Linked DNA regions of Homo sapiens: all the other regions are linked to region 6. The links are contacts of gene promoters, found by promoter capture Hi-C in blood cells and fetal thymus (Javierre and others, 2016). All regions are on one chromosome and are shown on one strand. Each heading gives the region's core, a stretch centred on a gene start or on the middle of the fragment in contact. The rest is flanking DNA. Distances are from core to core; before and after follow the strand shown.

Region 1 (2,700 bases), core at 189-2,688, 650 kb after region 6:
GTGCAGAAAAGGTCAGGTCCCCACAGCCAGCGGGCAGGCTCAGAGCACAAGTACAGCCCCCACCTCCATCCCCCGCCCCAGGGTGTGGGAGGAGAAAGGAGAGAAGGAAAAGAGGGAGGGAGGGAGGGACAGAGACAGAAAGAGAGGAGAAGGGAAAGAAAAACAGACAAGTAGAGGCAAAAACAAGGGAGAGAGAGAGACAGAAAGGCAGGCAGGCAGAAAAAGAAAAGAAAGGGAGGAAGACATTGAAAGGACAGGAAGACAGAGTGAGCGAGAAACGGGGAACAGGAGGGGATGGGAGGGAAGAAGATTTTCCTTTTTCCTTCCTTTTCTTTCTCTGAACTTCAGCACAGGGAGAATCTGCATTCCCAGGACAGGAGCACCTCCCCCAGCAGCCCTAGTGTGCGCTGAGCAACTGGGCAGAACCAGACTGCATGGGTTCAAGTCCCCACTGGCCACCCGCAGCCACTGCATCCCATTATCCCAGGTGAACGGTTTCCTCTTGAGTGATCAGGGCCTCGTCTGTGTCCTCCCTGTAGTGTGGAGAGGACATGGATGGACTCTGCGTTTATGCCCCGGCAGGCACGCACCATAGGGGCTGTGCCTTGGAGCTTGGAATAGGGATTCCTCCAACAGCAGCCATCACTTGAGAAGGGGCCACAGCTCCATCTACCCAGGAGAGGGCCAGATTATGCCCATACTGCAGGTTAGCATCTGTCCCATAGAGAAGGGTCCTGGTGTGGTCACTTGTTCTGTCCCTGGGTGACGGGATGGACAAGGGGGATGGTGGTGATAGTCCCCATGTTAGTCACCAGCTGGGAGCTGGCTTGGGTTCAGGTCTCACTTCCATCACTAACTTAGGCCGGGCTGGGGCACCAGGTCCTGGCTTGGCTTGCGCCCTGAGTAGAGCTGGTCCTGACAGCGGAGACCCTGTGCCCAAGTCCCCCCTGGGAAGTCAGTGTCCCCATAAGGGCAGTTGAGTCCAATGTGCAGAGGCCCTGAAGGAGGTGATCGTACTTCTATCCCTGGTCCCCCACTCTCCAGCCATGAGTGTTGGGCAGCCCCTGATGGGGCCCTGACCTATAAAATGGGGGTCTCATAGCTGACTTCAAAAGACCCTGGGGGGACCCACTCAGATGACTCACAGGGTGGGTTCTCGCAGTGGCTGCCAGCTGTCCCCACCATTACCCTTGGAGACCACAGGCCCAATCTGAGGAGCCTCTTACGAGAGGGGGTCATGAGTCTGGGGCTTACTGGGGCTCTCGAGATACTCATTCCCCACTTTCTTCCAACCCCCTAGAAGCGCCTCCAGCCCCCATGCCCCTGGGCTGATGAGAAATTCAGTTCCAGCCAAATGGAGGCTGCTGTTACGCCCGCACCTTCTCAAAGCCCCAGAGGCCTAGCATGGAGCCAAACTCTTGGGGAAGCCCCGAACTCTCAGTTCACAATGGTCAGTCATCACTTACAAGAACAGCAAGGGCAACTATTTATTGAGCACTTCTTTTATGCCAGGCATTGCTCTAAGTGCTTTATGTGTTTAAATAATCCTGACTGCAGATTACAGAGGGGCACCATTCCTATCGCAGATGAGGCTCGCCTAAGGCCACCAGCAAAGTGATTCAGCCTACTTCAAACCCTGAGGTGTGGCTCTGGTCCCTAGGCTCTTGATATACATAGACCCTAAGGGTCTCTTGAGGGCAGAGGCCAAGAGGTGGAGGCAGAGGGGCTTTGGAGAAGCAGGGGCCTGGGCATCCAGGGTCTAGCCTGGCAGGAATTCCTGGCAGCCCTACCAATGCAGACTCTGCCATCTGCCCAGGAAGCTGTGAGACTGGGCTGTGGCCCCCCCAGCCCTAGGACCCCCTCCCAGCTTGGTGGCTGTTTTTCTCACTATCTCAGCCATGCCCCCCACAAGGCATCTTCCTTTTGAAAATAAAAACCAGGAGTGGGCAATTTCAGTCCCCCACTCCATACCACAAAACCCTGATGAAGGAGTTCCACTGCCTTCTGGGAAGAGGAGAAAGGAAACACACACACACACACACAAGAGCAAGTCACAAATTAACATCACAGCACATGAGGTAGGCACACCTGCATTTCTGCAGACACGCCTGGGCTCAGGAGACTGCCAAGCCCCAACCAGCCTGTGTCCTGCAGGGATGTATATCCCACTTCCAGCAACAGTAGGGCCCTGACATTTAATCCTGAGGAGGTGACCCCCACTGGCATCTCTGAACTGGGCCTTGACAAATAGCAGTCACTTCTGAATCCATTCCCCCAAAAGGTCACCAGCCAGACGCCAACAAAAAACCCAGCCATCGCTGTCACATGCCGTCAGTCTTCCCCCACCCCCACCTTCTCCCCCATCTGTCTGGCTTGTGGAATCCTGTTCTGGCAGGAAGGTACTAGCCAAGACCCCCACCTGCCAGGGCCTGTCACCCTCCTGACTCCCAGAATTCCCTCCTTCCCCCTCACCAAGTGGGGGATTCTCAAGCCTCTGTCCTCACCCCGGGGAGGACCACCAGGGTAGTGGGCCCAAACCCTCCCCTGCTGCCTGGGGTCAGACACAACGGGCTTGCCTTGAAGCAGAGGGGCCAAGGGTCCTTCCCTACACCTGGAGAAACCAAAGCCCCATGACCAAGTGTTGGCCCCATACCCTGGGAAAGAAAACCCTCTGTGAAAGTACAGCAATCCCAGCTCCCT
Region 2 (2,700 bases), core at 156-2,655, 630 kb after region 6:
AGTTTGAAATTTTATGCATAGAATGAGTTCTTATTAATATAATATGCATAAGGAGTCTATATTAATATTCTTTATATGTAATTAAATTGGGTTTTCAAAAAGCTTGATATTGCTTGAAAAATTAAAAAGGGGAGTGGACGCTCTCCTCTAATATTTTAAAGTTCGGTCCTGAAAACTTTTTGGCATTTTTTGTTAGTTTGTTTGTTGTTGTTTGAGACAGGGTCTGGATCTGTCACCCAGGCTGGAGTGCAGTGGCATGATCTCAGCTCACTGCAGCATCCACCTCCAGGCTGAAGCCATCCTGTCACCTTGGCTCCCAAGTAGCTGGGACCACAGGCACATGCCATCATGCCCAGCTAATTTTTGTATTTTTTGAAGAGATGGAGTCTTGCTAAGTTGCCCAGGCTGGTCTTGAACTCCTGAGCTCAAGCAATCCTCCCACCTCGGCCTCCCAAAGTGTTGGGATTACAGGCATGAGCCACCACACTCAACCCTTTTTGGCATTTTAAAACTTGAGTCCGTAACTGGTAACGTTTTCTCAAATTCCCCCACAGGGGATGTAAATCAGGAGGCTGTGGTGAGCAGCAGGAGGGGATGGAGATGGGTCTCAGCTTTGGGTGCAGCAGGCCTGCGTTGAGGTCCCCACCCTACTTTCCTAACGGTGTAACTAAGACAAGCCTCTGCCTCCCATTTCCATGCCCCACTTCTGTGTCTATAAAATGCGCCTTCTAGGGGAAGCAATGGGGAGGACACTCCCCCAGCTTCACCTGAGGCTTCCCGTCTCTGGGGATTCTGTTTCAGTACATTTCCCCCAGCTTCACGTAAGACTTCCCATCTCTGGGGATTCTGTTTCAGTTGATCAAGTGTGAAGAAGATCTCCCCACCCCAAAGCCCAAAATCGAGCTTCCTGAGCGTTTCCGCATCCGGCCGGTGACCCCAGTGGAGAAGTACATCAAGGTTTGAAACGTTTTTAAATACTCATTTTTTTAAAATACTCATTTTCCTAAGTAAGAAATAAGCCCCAGTGGAAACTGATGGCTCCAGATGTGCAAAGCCAGCACTGAAGGTAAGAGCACAGCAGTGCCAGGTGCAGAGTCCAGGTCCACGTCCTTCCCAAACCCAGCCATGGGAAACATGCCAGGCTAAAGTCTACAAGTGCAAGCACCATGACCTCCTGCTCTGCAGAAGCAGAGAGAAGGCAGGAAAATGGGGTCTTCATGCGTTCTTTCAGCAAACATTTCCAGGGTGTGGGCAGGAAGGCAGGGCAGACCCAGGCAGGGACTCTGGAATCAGACCACCAGATCCCTGTGCTGATAGGCTGCTCACCTTCTGTGTGGTCTTGGGCAAGTGGCTTGACCTCTCTGTGTCTCCCCTGCCTGTCTTATACAATGGGGGTTAATGAAGCACCTACTTCAGGGAGTACCCTCAGGGTTCAGCAGGCTGCCCAGCATGTTTAGAGAGTGCCGATGACAGTCAGCTATTACTAAGGTGCAACAGCTTGGTTGGGAAAACAGTAATGAACAAGAAGGCAAGACCCCAGCCCACATGTCTGGGTCTAGAGAACCAACATTAACCAAGAAAATCAACACCATTTGGATACGCTATGCTAGCACCATGGAGGAAACAGGCCGGTGGTGTGTCACAGGATAAGAGAGGGCGGGGTGGTCAGGGAAGGGGCCCTTTGAGCTGAGGACTGAAGGATGACCAGGCACCAGCCCTAGGAAAAGTATTCTAGGCGCAGGGAACAGCATGTATGAAAGCCCTGAGATAGAACACAGGCTGCTATGTTTCAGGAACAGCAAGGCAAGGCGATGCGACAGGAGCTTGGGTGGAGGGTGGGGGCAGGAGGAGAAGGTGTGGGTGGAGAAGGGATGTGAGTGGAAAAGTGGGCAGGCTAGAAGAAGGAGTTGCAATTGGAGTCCAATTTAGAGAAGCCGCTGGAGGGTTGTAAGCAGGGCCATGGAAAGGCAAGACCTGCCTATTGGAAAGATGGCTCTCATTGCTAGTGGAGAAAAGATTGTGGGGAGAGGGACAGGAGTGACCAGGCCAAACCCAGAGAAAAGAGGCCTTAGACGATGCTCTCACCTGAAGCCTGCACCACGGCGGACATGGCTCAGATCCCTCTAGAAACAGTTGAGCTCCATATGTCTCATGGGTCTGTCATTTTGGCTGGGAGTTCTGCCCTCTGCCCAGCTATGGAGAAGGTGGTTCTGCGTGCTGATGGGGAGAGCAGATGAAAACCCAAGATGAAGGCCGCAGGGCAGGAGGAGTTCAGCTGCAGCCTTTTGCCTGGCATGCTCGTGGTCTGATGGGGTAGCTGGCACATAGTGAGCATTTGGGGGGTATGCATCTGTGAGCCCCAATGAATGAATGAATGAATGAGCTCCACTGAGTTATGTTGACAGTTTTTACCCCAAATATAAAGCAATATAGAGTCACTGCTAAAAAATATTTAGAAATACACCAAAATATAATATAATTAAAACCCACATATAGGCTCTTACCCATGATTAACATTTTGGGGGTGCTCCTTCCAGAGGTTTTCCTACACATCCCTTGACCTGTAAGAGTAACCACCCCACCAGCTCAAGCTATTATTATCTCTTAGCCGCTCACCGTGGTGACTGCTTTACATTGGGTGTCTCATCTTACTTCCACTGCAGCCCCGGATATTATCATCCTCAAACCCATTTTGCAGAT
Region 3 (2,700 bases), core at 137-2,636, 670 kb after region 6:
TGGAAATGGCCAAATAATTAGTCAGCAGCTGGTTAAATTAATTATAGTTTGTGTGCACAATAAAATTGTTGAAAACAATTTTTTTAAAGAATATTCATGTAAAAAGATGTGCACCATAAAAATTGTAGCATAGAATGTATAGTATAATCTCATTTAGATAGATAGATAGACAGAGAGACAGACAGACAGACAGACAGACAGAAAACAGCCTGGAAAGGTATGGACTGTATCAGTTAGGAAGCTCTTGGCTAGAAATAACAAAGAATCCACTAATGTGACTTTAAAAATTAAGAGTTTGTCTTCTCACATCAGAAAAAGGTGAGTGGCAGCTGCTAACCCTGGCTCAGCAGCTCCATGGATAACAGCTGCAGTCTCTGCAATTTTCTTGGTCTTAATGATGGCAAAATGGCTGCCTCATCTCTAGTCATCACATCTGAATTCAAGGCCAGGAGGAAGAAACAAAAGGCATCTCTAGCAATGCTGTCCTTTTATTAAGTAAGCAAAAGCTTTCTCAGCAACCCTCGCACACTTCTCATTGGCCAGAACTTGTCACATGGCCACCGCCAGCTGCAAGACCGGCTGGGGAATAGGGTTATTTCTACCTGTACAGTGAAATCAGGCGATGGAGGAGGAAGCTGGGAGCTGGTTGGAGGACAGCCGATCTGCCAAGTCTGCCCCAAACCCAGACTGTTTGTGTTGATTATCTTCAGTGGGACAAATGAAGCGAAATCTCCACTTTTTATGTTGTCCATGTCTGGACCACTTGAAGTTCATTAAGAATTAATATTATTACTTTTACAGTCCTCTTCCCAGCCAAGCTCCTGAGATTAAAAAAATAATAATAATGAGTCTTGGGCCAGGCATGGTGGCTCACGCCTGTAATCCAAGCACTTTGGGAGGCCGAGGTAGGAGGATCACTTAAGGTCAGGAGCTTGAGACTAGCCTGGCCAACATGGTGAAACCCCGCCTCTATTAAAAGTACAAAAGTCAGCCAGATGTGGTGGCAGATGCCTGTAATCCCAGCTACTCAGTAGGCTGAGACAGGAGAATTGCTTGAACCTGGGGTGGAGCTTGCAGTGAGCTGAGATCAAGCCACTCCACTCCAGCCTGGGTGACAGAGTGAGACTCCGTCTCTAAATAAATTAATTAATTAATTAAAAAAAAATGAGTCTCCACTTCCTGCCTCAGCTTCTCTGTGCCCACCCACCCACCTTTCCCCATCCCCTCTGCCTCCACCTCCTCTCGACTCCTCTGAATCCCCCTGGAGAGACCTGCTGTGGCCGCCCTGTAGCCTAACCCAACCCACCTTCCAATCCTCCTCATCCTACGTCACCCATCCTGGTTATCACCTCCGTCTTGAAATCCTTGCTATTCTTTCCCTCTGGGATTTGGCATGCCATGCTATTGTGTAAGCCACGCAAAGGAAGGGACGTTCTCTATTTTGTTCACTGCTGCTGTGTCTGCCCAGAACAGCACCTGGCACGTAGTAGGTGCTCAAGGATGTTTGATGAGTGGGCGAATGAACAAGTGGACAGCAGAAATCCTGCACCCCCTCTGCTTAGACTGCCACTTCTCAGTCTTGGGCATCATGGCGGCAGCCATGGAAATGTCCCCGAAGACCTCTTACTGCCTGCAGGGGGTGGAACTGGCCTTGGGTAGCCCCAGCTGCCTCCCTTTGAAAACATCCTGGCTTTCACGCCTAAGGCACGCTCTGCCCATCACGGGCATGTCCAGGACGCTAAGATGGATCCCTTCTGCAAGATACTGCCTTGCAGTGCATTCGAACACACGTCCGTCCCCTTCCTTCGCTTTCTCCTTACAAGGTTCTCCCAGCGTCCCTGCCTCCTCCCCATTTCCCTATCTCTTGCATGGGTGTCTACTTCTCCGAGGACCCAGACACCCAGCATCTCTCCCCCACCTGGCTCTCCAGCGCATCCCCTTGGGTTCTCTCCTCGACCCTCCTCTTCTCGTGCCACCAGCTTTCCCTGTGGCTCCTCATCCACACCCTCGCCTGATGCGCACGTGCACACACACAGACACACACAAACACACACAGACACACACACACAGACACACACACACAGACACACAGACACACACAGACACACACACACAGACACACAGACACACACACAGACACACACAGACACACACACACAGACACACACACAAACACACACACACACACACAGACACACACATTTTTTCCTAAACCTAGGTTTCTATCCCTAACCCTTTGTGCTGCCTCCGGAGTGTCCCACTGGCCTGAAGCTTAGCACAACCACACTGAGCTGGTCACCTTCACCTCTAGCCCCGCTGGCCCATCCATCTTACCACCACCCCGTCACCGGGGCCACCTCTCCTGGGCCTCCTCCTCTCCCACTCCACCCCGTCACCGGGGCCACCTCTCCTGGGCCTCCTCCTCTCCCACTCTGCCCCGTCACCGGGGCCACCTCTTCTGGCCCTCCTCTCCCACTCCGCCCCGTCACCGGGGCCACCTCTCCTGGCCCTCCGCCTCTCCCTCGCTTCTTTTCTCCTTGCTAGGTCAGCAGATCTTTGAGGACGGAGCCAGGCTCACACTTCTGTGGCACTGATGCTGTCCCACCAGCACACCGTCGTAAGCATTCACGATTCATGAGGCTGCTTTTCAGCAAAGGAGAATCCCCCTTTCTCTTGAACTCTACAACCTTTCATCTGTTC
Region 4 (2,700 bases), core at 159-2,658, 860 kb after region 6:
GGTTACAGTGGCAAAGGTTAAACTTAACATACACTACATTAAGGTGTATAATTTAGAGGATGGGTGATTAAAGTACTCCAAAGTCTTTATATTTTAAGGAAACAGGGTAAAGACATTTTTACAAATATTTAAAGATATTGGACTTTCACAAGGTAAGTATGCATGCCCAAAAGTTTGAAGTAACCACTAAAACTTAGAAATAGAGTATACAGGTGAAGAAAATCAGAATGAGAATAAAAATAAACCCTAAAGAAGAAAGGAAAGGGGAAAAAAACCAGGCAGGACAAATAGAAATAACAAAATACAATGGTAGAAATAATTCCAGATATATCAGTAAATATAATAAATGTAAATGGACTAAATGCTCCAGTTAAAATACAAAGACTATTCTTTTAAAAAACCTTTTTATCATGAAAAATTTCAAGTATACAGCAAAGTGGGAGAAACAGTACAAGAAAACCATATACCTGCGATGTAGAGTCAGCCATTGCTAGCAATTTGCCACATTTGTCTCACCTATATGGGTATGTATAGGAGACTATTAAGAACACCTATTTAACTTCCATAGTAAACATAATATAATGAAATACAATTTAAACGGTAATCATGATGTAGAGTATCCACTTTTGAGGTCAAGCAGATCTGGATTCTCCAGCAATTTTTAATTATTTAACTTACGTGTGTGGTTATTTATTCAAAAGATGTCTCTTCACTAGGCTATAGTAAAAGGATTGGAATCAGGTTCGCTTTTCTGATCATTGTATTTCTAAATATTTGTTGCATAAACAAATAGAATTTACTAGTAAAGAATTCAGCACAGTGCCAGTTGCATAGTAAACATTTAACGTAGAGTAGCTTGTATTTATTGTAGTTGCTGTTGTTATTGGAAGCATTCAGTAGAGTGATACAAAATAAATAAGCAATAATTGGTAGTTTATTATATTTATAATTATTATTTACAAGACGTCACAGTGCCTAGCCCATATCACTCACCCATAAACATTATACTTATACTAAGTACTTTCACTATTATTCAAAGTCTCTAACAGTGCCTGGCACTACATAAGCAAGAGAAAAGTGGAAGTTTATTCTAATTGTTATTATTGAATAAAGCACTTAACACGAAGCTGGCCCCCAGCGGGCCCTTAATAGTTTCCGCGGTGGCTGTCGTAGCTGGACTACAGACCCCGCCTCCTGAGCGGCCCGAAGCCCCGCCCCTTACTGCCCCGCAGTCCCGCCCCCGTGGCTTGTGCCGCGCCTGCGCACTGTCCCGGAAGGGGCTCTACGCGCGCAGCTTTAGTCCCCGCCCCTGGAGCCGGCGGCGCAGGGCGCAGCTTCCCGCCGCCAGAGCGGGCCAGCCTGCTGCGTGCGTGCGTGTGTACGACTCTGCGTGCGTGCGTGCGTGCGTGCGTGCCGTCAGCTCGCCGGGCACCGCGGCCTCGCCCTCGCCCTCCGCCCCTGCGCCTGCACCGCGTAGACCGACCCCCCCCCAGCGCGCCCACCCGGTAGAGGACCCCCGCCCGTGCCCCGACCGGTCCCCGCCTTTTTGTAAAACTTAAAGCGGGCGCAGCATTAACGCTTCCCGCCCCGGTGACCTCTCAGGGGTCTCCCCGCCAAAGGTGCTCCGCCGCTAAGGAACATGGCGAAGGTGGAGCAGGTCCTGAGCCTCGAGCCGCAGCACGAGCTCAAATTCCGAGGTAAGCCCCAGAGGCCGCCACCTTCCTGCCCGCGGCCTCCGCCCCAGTGCTGGAAGGACGGAGCCCGGCGCGGCGGGTGACGTCGGCCCTCGTCCCCACCCCGACGGCGCTGTCGCGGGGGGCGGCGAGGCCGGGCCGGGCCTTGGCGCTCGCCGCGCTCCCCAGAACTGCCCGGAGTGGCCGGGACCCGAGAGGGCTGGTGCGGGAGCCGGGGCCTGCGCCTCCTCCCCGACCCCCAGCCTCCTGGGACTTGCCTTCGAGGCACTTGTCACTTTGTAACTTACCAGTTTGTGATCCTCTCTAGTGTGAGCCTCCGCCGCTGCCTTTGCCTAGAAGTTTCTTCCCCTGCTCCGTGACAGTGTTGACCTCAGGGCTTAGTTGAGGTGTCAGCTGCTCAGAGAGGCCTGCTGTGACCACCCAGCCACCGTGCACACCTGCTGTCATTCCCTATTCCGTCACTGTTTCGTGGTCAGCACGGCACTTTTCATACCCAAAATCACTGTTTCAATACTAGAAGGGAAACTGCATGAGGACAGGCTCTTGTCAGTTCGCTGCTGTGTACCCAGCACACATTATACGCCTAGTAAATAAATACCTGTTGAACCAACAGATGAACATGTTGAACCAACAAATGAACCTCCTCAGGACTTCTGATGGGATTGGGCCCATTTTCCTTTCACTGCGTCCCTCATGCTGTCTCCTGGTTGCGGTGCAAGGAGGCTGCCACGGTGCTGGGATCCTTTTTCTCCGCAGAGCTGTCTGGAGCAACACCTGCGGCGATGGGAAGCCATGACCCTGGTTTCTCCCAGATACTATTACCTCTGTAATTTGTGCCTTTATGTTTTCTATGTTGTTACTTTTGTTTTTTTTTTTTTTTTCCTACCTTCACCAGGGCCACGAGGTAAAAGTTCTTGTCTGACATGCTCATTCTTTCTTTTTGCGTGTATCCAGTGATGTGGGAGGCTCTGGGGAGGTGATGGATGCACAAGACAGATAAGGCCTC
Region 5 (2,700 bases), core at 156-2,655, 710 kb after region 6:
TTGGAGTGAGCTGTGCCTGGGAGAAACCCATCTGTGCTTTTCCCTTCATTCACCGGAGATGAGGCTGAGTGTTCAAGTAAACAGGAAGCTTACCTGTGGTGGTCAAATTACAAACACTCAACATGGCACCCATGAATAATTAGAAAATACAAGCGCCGAAGTGACGGGGGCGGGAGCTAGGAGGGCGAGGGGAAACAGAACAATCTTGGAAAAATCTCGGTTGTTGCAAAAAAAGAATAAAATGTATGCTTAAAAATTATTTTTACAGAGAAATTACAGCCATAAAAAATATCTGTGCATTGGAAAGGCACTCATATTATAGAAAAATGTTAACATATAAACGGAAATTGTAAAGGTTAGATTATTTACCAAAGAGTCTCTACAATCTCTCCAAGCATGTTGTGATTCAGCATGCAAATTATACACATCACAACACAAACTGAAGCTCATTTTTTTCCTTAACGGAAAATTAAGCTCTGAATAGAATACAAGATTCCAGTTGAATAATTCTACTTGCTGCTAGATCAACAGATTTTAACAAAACAATCTCAATTTGCGGGCAATAAAAAAAAATTAAAAATTGCTGGTTACCAAAGCAAAACAATATCTCCATTTACTTTAGGCAAGAATTAAACACACGACGGATTGACTGATTTTTTTTTTAATATGTAGCTTCTGATTTATTAACTCACTTTTTGCCGACGCTGCCTAAATGCTACCCTGGGGTATAATTTGCAATTCTCACATAGGTACCTTATTATTATTTTGGCGTGGTGTATATACGCCTATCTTTCTTTTAAAAGAATCAGTTAAATGGAATTTGGAGGTGGAAGTCACATCCTCTATACTAGAAAATTCAATACATAGCTTCAAGAATTTCATTTAAAAATAAAGACAAGACAAACAAGAAAAAGACCAAAGGGCAGAATAGAAATAGCTTACAAGCCCTTAGCAGAGCTAGCTCTTGAACCCCAAATGGGCTGTTTCCTCCTTCCTTCCCTTATCCTACCTTTGAGAACATAAAAATAGAAACACGAAAAATGACATGTGCATACATGTAAGTAAAATTTGTTCAAATGGTTAGAAAATCTTAAATTACTGATTTAAAAAACCTGGTTAAATTCTAGAGCATCTTTCTCTTAGTCTAAATTTGAAACGCATGAAATCTAAGCGGTGTGTACTTAAGTCAATTTGAAGAGTATATAATTTGACCCCCAAAGTCACAGGTGCGTAGAACTTGTGGGCAGGTTATGATCAGAACTAGGTTTTCCTTTTTTTGGTTAAGATTCTAAAGCATTAGATATAAAGTCAATATCCATGCATCTCAGTTATCAATTTCCCTCCCAAGTTTAAACATATAGCATATCCATATAAAAATGGAAAAACCTCAGTTATCCATTTCCCTCTCAAGTTCTTAAACATATGACAGCATATCCATATAAAAATGAAAAATCTTTCAGCTTTATGCCTCTATCAAAGGCCAACACATATCTTCATGGAAACAGTTCCTGTCAGGCAGGGAGGAGTGAGTGCCTGAGGAAAAGTTCCAAGTAGTTTATAACAAAGGCACAATATTAGAAAGACTGCCATCAATCATTCTTTAGATTTCTTTATCACATTTTTCAAAAATAAACAAATCGAACCATATTTGTAGCAACTCAAAGTGCAGCATAGATTTAAATGATGTATTTGTTCAGCTCACTGATAGGGGGCAAATACTACATTAATATATTTTCTTCCTGTCAAGAGTTATTTACATATGTACAGTATTTCAGTTAAAAATATAACACCATAAACTATATTTTATAGGAAATCATAAGGGAAGGAAATATGCAGGTCTATTAAAGACTTAAGAGCTTCTAATAAACTACTTTACTTGGAGAGGGTTGGGGGGACTTCAGATCATACAGTCTGCCATGGAGAAAAGAACTTGCTGGCAGACAGCCTGATGGTTCAGAGGCTCCAGTGCCCAGTTAGCCACCTGGTCTGCAATCTTTCCACAGACTTACTGATCAGGCTTGATCAGGATGGCCCAGCCATCCAGAAAAAGCCCCCATCAGGTTCAGTCCCTTCGGGGTACAGATGGAAAAGGCGTCAATCACTGAGTGCACAGTATGAAAGGTTCCAAAATCTCCCCCAGCTGGTATAATACAATCAGTTCCCCTTCAAGTTATGGTAAGCCATATGTGCCAAGCATGAAATAATCAGATTGCAACTCATCACGGAAGTAGTTAATTCTGTTTTTCTAGTACAGCAGTGTCTATGATATTCCGCCGCTTTGGTTCTAGGGCTGCAAAAAAGGAAACATCTTGGTCCCGGTCTGACTGCAATGCTAAGATGGTCTCTTCAATGACTTCAAGATGAGGGTTACCAGCATTTCTAAAATACGCTAAAGAGAGAAACCATGAGTCTGAATCAGGTAAGCCATGAACAGTGTTCAAAACACACTCGGTTTTGTTTTTTGTTAGCCACATGTCAGGACAATAAATCAAAGAGTATTTCTAAAATGTTAAAGATGGACTCCCAACAGTTATGCATATTTTTAAAATTATAGTAACTATCTTTTTTCCCTGCAATACAAAAGAAATGGCAATGTGCAGAGCAGGAGCAGGTTGTAGGTAGGGTGGGGCAGGGGGTGAGGTGGCAAGAAATGTACATGTAGGGCAGAGTTCAAGATATTTTCCTATATGTGTGGTGTAG
Region 6 (2,700 bases), core at 199-2,698:
TCACCGCTAACTTACTGTCTTCACTGGCCACCATCACATTCTCCTCTAGAGCGTGGAACTGCAACACCTCCATCTCTTGCGGGGAGTACAGCTCTTGCTGGATACTAATGGCCACACACTGCTGCAGGCTCTGCCGGGGCCCTTCCTCAAGCCACAGCAACCCAGGGCCAGGCTGTTGCACCACCACCTGCACCCCTTCTTGCTGCTGTATGCTCAGCAAGCTCATATCCTGCAACTCCACAGCTTCAGAAGTGAAGTGCACCGTCTGCAGGGTCAGGATGTACTTCTCGCTCTCCTCCGAGGGGGCCAGCACCAGCTCCACTTCTTCCTCCAGGACGCTGTCCTGGAAGGCCCCAGAGGTACGCTCGGCCTCCAACTCACTAGGGCTCCGATGGTCTTTCTCTCTGCACACTCCGTCTTTTTCCTCCTCCTTCAGGCCTTTTTCCGGCATCAACTCGAGTTCTTTGATCTTGGTGAATTGCTCAGAAAGGACAGAGATCTCAGTGGCTGCCATAATGACTTGGCCTGTTTGAAAAATAAGCAAGCGGTTTCCATAGGGGGGAGAAGGGGGTGGTATGAGGAGGGATGCGGGGGGTGCTGGAACCTAGCAGGCTTTGGAGTTGAAACAAGGTCTGGCCTCAAAAGGTTTTGGACTTAGTAGGGTCAGAACAATGCTGATCTGGCTTGGGTCTAGGAGGGGGTCAAGGCTAAGCAGGATTTAGGCTAAAGCAGGATTTTGTACAAAACCCTAGAACGAACAGGTTTGGGCCTCAGCAGGCTTAGGGCCAGCACACATCCTGCGCCTGGCAAGGTTCCGCCTGAGCACACTCTGGCCCAGTGCATATCCTGGGCCTAGCAAGGTTAGGCCTGAGCCGGTTCAGTCAGTGAACATCCTGGGCCTAGTAAGGTTTGGGCCCAGCAGGCTCTCGGCCAGTGCATATCCTGGGCCTAGCAAGTTTCAGGTCCAAGCAGGCCCCGGGCCAGTGCACACCCGGCGCCCAGCGAGGTTCGGGCCCGAGCAGGCATTCCCCTCGTGCACGGTTCTAGACCTAGCACCCTCAGAGCCAGGCAGGCTTTGGGCCTAGTGGCCTCGAGCCCACCCAGACTTGGCCAAGCAGCCCTCGGCCAGACCAAGCACACTCCCTCGGAGGCCTGGCAGGGCCCCTGCTTTACCCTGCCCCCCACGCCCCGCCCCGACCCGACCCTCCCAGGCAGCCCCTCAGCGTCTGCCGCCCGCCCTTGGGCCTTTCCGGCCAGCCCCTCCCTCCGCCCACGCCCAGAACAGCCCATGCTCTTGGAGGAGAGCAGGTGGGCTTGACCGGGACTGGCCCCTCACCGCGGAAGGCGTGGCCGGAATGCTCGGCCCACTCCGTCTTTGGCTTGTGGGCTCTGCCTCGTGCACCGCGTGCTGCAGCCCACAGCCGGCCGCCGCCGGGCTGGCGCGAGAGTGGAGGGTGGCAGTGCGCAGGCGCGGAGCGGAAAAGAGGGGGCGTGAAGGGGGCGGAGCCAGGCAGGGTTGGGGGAGGGGGTGATGTACTGTGGGGGCAGGGGGGAAGGGGAGTAGGGAGGGGGAGGGGGAGCACGGATGAGGAGGACCCCAGAGGGGGCACTGGTGGACCTGGGGGGGTGGATGAGGAGGGGAGGAGGGTCCCATACAGGGCACTGGGAGACCTGGGGTGGGGGTGGATAAGGAGAGGAGGAGAGCCTGCAGGGCACTGGAAGACTGGGTAGTGGGGGAGCGCCTAAGGAGGGGAGGAGGGTCCTGCAGGGGCACGGAAATACCTTGGGGTTGAAGTGGATGAGGAAGGGAGGAGGGCCCCGCAGGGGGCGCTGGGAGACCCGGGGGGGAAGTAAGGAGGGCACGAGGGCCTGCAGGGGGCCTGGGAGATCTGAGGGGGAATGGATAAGGAGGGGAGGAGGGCCCACAGGAGGCACTGAGATACTGGGGGGAGGGGTGGAATGAGGGGGGGAGGGGTGGAATGAGGCGGGGAGGATAGCCCTGCAGGGGGGCTGGGAGACCTGAGGGGGGTGGTGGGTAATGGATAAGGAGGGGAGGGGGGCCTGCAGGGGGCCTGTGACACCTAGGGGAGGGGAATGGATAAGGAGGGTAGGAGGGCCAACAGGAGGCACTGAGATACCAGGGGGAGGGGTGGAATGAGGAGGGGAGAGCCCTGCAGGGGGGCGGGGAGACCTGAGGTGAGGGTAATGGATAAGGAGGGGAGGAGGGTCTGCAGGGGTTCTTGGGAGACCTGGGGGATGAATAGGAGAGGACAAGGGGAGGAGGGTCTGCAGGGGGCCCTGGGAGCCCTGCGGGGGGCGAGGGGTGGGGGAATGGATAAGGAGGGGAGGAGGGCCTGCAAGGGGTGCTGGGAGACTTGGGGGAGGGGAATGGATAAGGAGGGGAGGAGGGCCTGCAAGGGGTGCTGGGAGACCTGGGGGAGGGGAATGGATAAGGAGAGGAGGAGGGCCCGCAGGAGGCACTGAGAGACTGGGGGGAGGGGTGGAATGAGGAGGGGAGGAGAGCCCTGCAGGGGGCGCTGGGATACCTTGTGGGGGAATGGATAAGGAGGGGAGGGGGTCCTGCAGGGGGCGCTGGGAGACCTAGGGGAGGGGAATGGATAAGGGTGGGAGGAGGGCCCGCAGGAGGCACTGAGATACTGGGGGGAGGGGTGGAATGAGGAGGGGAGGAGAGCCCTGTAG
Region 7 (2,700 bases), core at 199-2,698, 610 kb after region 6:
GCTTCCTTTTTAAAATAACTGTATGTTTTCAAAAGTGTGTAAATGTAAAAGAAAGGATTAAGTAAATAATGGCACGATATGGCAGGTGAGATGCAAATGGCAGGTTTGGGGAAAAGGGCAATCGATAAAAATAAAGGCAGCTTGGCTCTCCCGCTCTCCCAGCGCTGCAGCTCAGAGGAAAACTAAAATTAATTCCTTTTGCAGCATGACGGGGAAAAAAAGCATCCAGAAGGAAATTCATCAAACCATTAAAAGTGATCTCCCCCAGGGAAGGGGCTTGCAGGCAGGGGGAACACATTCACATTTCGCTTTAAACACATCTGGATTATTTGAATTTTTGTATTGCATAGAAGTTAACCCTTTGTCTGACTTCTTGGTTATAAATGTTTTTCTTGGAATGCCTTTTGTTTATTGCCTTTGTGATCTCTTGGGCAGGCAAAACTTCTCAACTTCATAAAATAAAATAAAAAATCCATCTTTTCTTTATAGCTTCTGGGTTTCCAGTCTCCCTGGCCCCTAGATTGTAACTGCAGTATCACACATTTCTTGCAATACTATTATGATTATTGTGTTACTTGTAAGTATTTAATTCCTCTAGAGTTGATTTCTGTATCCATGGACCATTGGTTCCATTTTCATGTTCTCCCATTTGTCAAAGGGTTCATCCATCCTCCTGTCTTGAACATCAGCTCTCTCCGTATATACCTTCTGAGTTATAAGGACAGTTCCACTTCACTTCCTGCTTCACTAATCTAGTCCCTGTCACGACACCAAAACTGACTTGGTTACAGGACCTTTAGAGCCTATACTAATACCTGGATAGGTAAATCCTCCATCACTCTTCTCATTTTCCACATTTCCTAGCTATTCTGAGGGCATCTCTTCTTCCATAGGAACTCTAAGATTATATTTTTATTTGAGTATGCATTATTTCAATAATTTAAAAAATAAAATATTTTATTATTAAAAAGGTGGCCAGGTGTGGTGGCTTATGCCTGTAACTCCAGCACTTTGGGAGGCCAAGTCGGGTGGATCACTTGAGGTCAGGAGTTCGAGACCAACCTGGCCAACATGGCGAAACCCTGTGTCTACTAAAAATACAAAAATTAGCTGGGTGTGGTGGCGAGCGCCTGTAATTCCAGCTACTCAGGAGGCTGAGGCAAGAGAATTGCTTGAACCTGGGAGGCGGAGGTTGCAGTGAGCCGAGATTGTGCCACTACACTCCAGCCTGGGCGACAGAGCGAGACTCTGTCTTTAAAAAAAAAAAAAAAAAAACTCCTTGTCCAAAAAAAAAAAAAAGTGGGGGGAGGCGGCACCACCAGATGCTGGTGAGGATTGGAGTACCGAGAGCTCTCACCCCTGGTTGGTGGGAATGCAAAATGGTGCAGCCACTTTGGAAGACAGTTTCACAGCTTCTTGCAAAGTTACACATATTCTTTCCATACCACACAGCAATTGTGCTCCCTGATATTTACCCAGAGGATTTGTTTAGAGCAGCTTTCATCATAATTGCCAAAACTTAGAATCCACCGCGATGTCCTTGGGTTGGTGAATGGATGAACTGTAGTACATCCAGGCACTGGAATTTTATTCAGTACTAAGAAAGGAACAAGCTATCGAGATAGGAAAAGATGTGGAGGAAACCGACGGCATGTTACTAAGTGAAAGAAGTCAGTCTGAAAAGCACACACTGTATGGTTCCAACTCTATGGCCACACTAAGGAGGCACAAAACAAAGAAAAGATGCGCAAAAGACAAAAACAAACACAATTAGGGAGGCGAGTGTCCCGCTCTGGTGGGGGATGTTGATAGTGAGGGAGGCCGTGCCTGTGTGGAGGCAGGGGGTTTATGGAAAATCTCTGCACCTTCTACTCAGTTTTGCTGTGAACTTGAAACTGCTCTTAAAAAAATAAGGTCTTTTTTTTAAAGGGAGGGAGGGATCTTTTAAATTGTCTCTTTCTTGTATATCAAAAGCTAAGCTATGCCAGCATCTGAAACAGAAAGTGGCTGAGGGTACCTCTGTCACTTGGACCTCTTCTGCTCACAGCCTCCCTGAACTGGTGGCCAGGGAAGGCAGTGGGAGGAGAGGACCAAGTCTCAAACTCCAGAAGCCCCACCTCCCTGAGCTCAGCAACTCTGCCAAGCCCCCTCAGGTAAGCCAGCAGGGAGGCGGTGGGGGCTCTATAGAGTGAGCACTTCTCAGCCAGTTACCTGGCTAGGAGCCCAGCAATTCTTGCTAGAACCCCGCGGATGTGGTGCCAGTTTGAATAAGAGTCAGCTCTGGCTGATTCTTGCAGACAAAGTGAGGTGGAGCTCTCTCTTTGAGCGTTCTACTATGCACAGGACTGCAGGTGGGAAATCGCTGTCAGGAAGGACAGAGGGAGGAAAACGTTGACAGCGCAGATAAAAGGGGTCAAGTTCACGGGACTTTGACCATGTCCCAGGCATTGTGCTGTGCCTGCACTCCTGTCATCCCCCCATTCTACAGACAACTATTCAGAGAGATTAATTCTTTCACCCATGACCACCCAGCTTACGGGGGCACTTGGAGCTCACCTGTCGGCTCCAACCCCTTCTCACTGCTCAGTGCAAGAGTAAGGCAATACACTGCCGGCCCCACCCTGGAGGAAAATACTCGGCTCTGAATCTGCACCTCTCCCAAGTAGGTATTTACAAACAAAAGAACTCAGCGCTCCCGGC

Evidence for each region. The method cuts DNA at HindIII sites, captures the fragments that hold promoters and counts their contacts. A CHiCAGO score of 5 or more calls a contact.
Region 1: a contact is called between a fragment that was not itself captured here and the fragment with the promoter of CTCFL in region 6, in 12 of 17 cell types (M2 macrophages, total B cells, M0 macrophages and 9 more). The highest score is 10.3, in M2 macrophages.
Region 2: a contact is called between a fragment that was not itself captured here and the fragment with the promoter of CTCFL in region 6, in 5 of 17 cell types (M1 macrophages, endothelial precursors, M0 macrophages and 2 more). The highest score is 7.3, in M1 macrophages.
Region 3: a contact is called between a fragment that was not itself captured here and the fragment with the promoter of CTCFL in region 6, in 3 of 17 cell types (endothelial precursors, M2 macrophages and naive B cells). The highest score is 7.2, in endothelial precursors.
Region 4: the fragment with the promoter of VAPB here is called in contact with the fragment with the promoter of CTCFL in region 6 in 5 of 17 cell types (M0 macrophages, naive B cells, M2 macrophages and 2 more); the score reaches 10.2 in M0 macrophages.
Region 5: a contact is called between a fragment that was not itself captured here and the fragment with the promoter of CTCFL in region 6, in 4 of 17 cell types (M2 macrophages, M1 macrophages, erythroblasts and 1 more). The highest score is 11.1, in M2 macrophages.
Region 7: a contact is called between a fragment that was not itself captured here and the fragment with the promoter of CTCFL in region 6, in 4 of 17 cell types (endothelial precursors, M2 macrophages, monocytes and 1 more). The highest score is 8.6, in endothelial precursors.

What each region holds. Positions count from the first base shown.
Region 1 is chr20:58,175,156-58,177,855 of GRCh38, forward strand. The region is part of intron 2 of LOC105372694 (a long non-coding RNA gene); the gene reads right to left. Among named protein-coding and RNA genes, the nearest start is that of CIMIP1, 26 kb to the left of the region's middle. RefSeq lists an enhancer at 532-1,032. The HindIII fragment of the contact is 7,423 bases long and covers 1-2,700 here.
Region 2 is chr20:58,154,613-58,157,312 of GRCh38, forward strand. It overlaps CIMIP1 (ciliary microtubule inner protein 1), which reads left to right. Exons shown (of 4, transcript NM_178456.3): 3 at 856-957. LOC107985434 (a long non-coding RNA gene) reads right to left here. Exons shown (of 3, transcript XR_001754692.2): 2 at 2,086-2,217. Among named protein-coding and RNA genes, the nearest start is that of CIMIP1, 5.1 kb to the left of the region's middle. The HindIII fragment of the contact is 2,611 bases long and covers 101-2,700 here.
Region 3 is chr20:58,194,706-58,197,405 of GRCh38, forward strand. No RefSeq gene overlaps it. Among named protein-coding and RNA genes, the nearest start is that of ANKRD60, 33 kb to the right of the region's middle. The HindIII fragment of the contact is 1,765 bases long and covers 505-2,269 here.
Region 4 is chr20:58,387,821-58,390,520 of GRCh38, forward strand. It overlaps VAPB (VAMP associated protein B and C), which reads left to right and starts at 1,409. Exons shown (of 6, transcript NM_004738.5): 1 at 1,409-1,697. The coding sequence starts at 1,640. RefSeq lists silencers at 1,118-1,557, 1,818-1,937. The HindIII fragment of the contact is 12,509 bases long and covers 1-2,700 here.
Region 5 is chr20:58,229,539-58,232,238 of GRCh38, forward strand. No RefSeq gene overlaps it. Among named protein-coding and RNA genes, the nearest start is that of ANKRD60, 2.2 kb to the left of the region's middle. The HindIII fragment of the contact is 2,638 bases long and covers 87-2,700 here.
Region 6 is chr20:57,523,692-57,526,391 of GRCh38, forward strand. It overlaps CTCFL (CCCTC-binding factor like), which reads right to left and starts at 1,449. Exons shown (of 11, transcript NM_001386993.1): 1 at 1,337-1,449; 2 at 1-525. The coding sequence starts at 514. RefSeq lists an enhancer at 1-578. The HindIII fragment of the contact is 10,995 bases long and covers 1-2,700 here.
Region 7 is chr20:58,133,342-58,136,041 of GRCh38, forward strand. It overlaps LOC107987284 (a long non-coding RNA gene), which reads left to right. Exons shown (of 3, transcript XR_001754693.2): 3 at 1-486. The region is part of intron 2 of LOC107985434 (a long non-coding RNA gene); the gene reads right to left. Among named protein-coding and RNA genes, the nearest start is that of CIMIP1, 16 kb to the right of the region's middle. The HindIII fragment of the contact is 2,899 bases long and covers 1-2,700 here.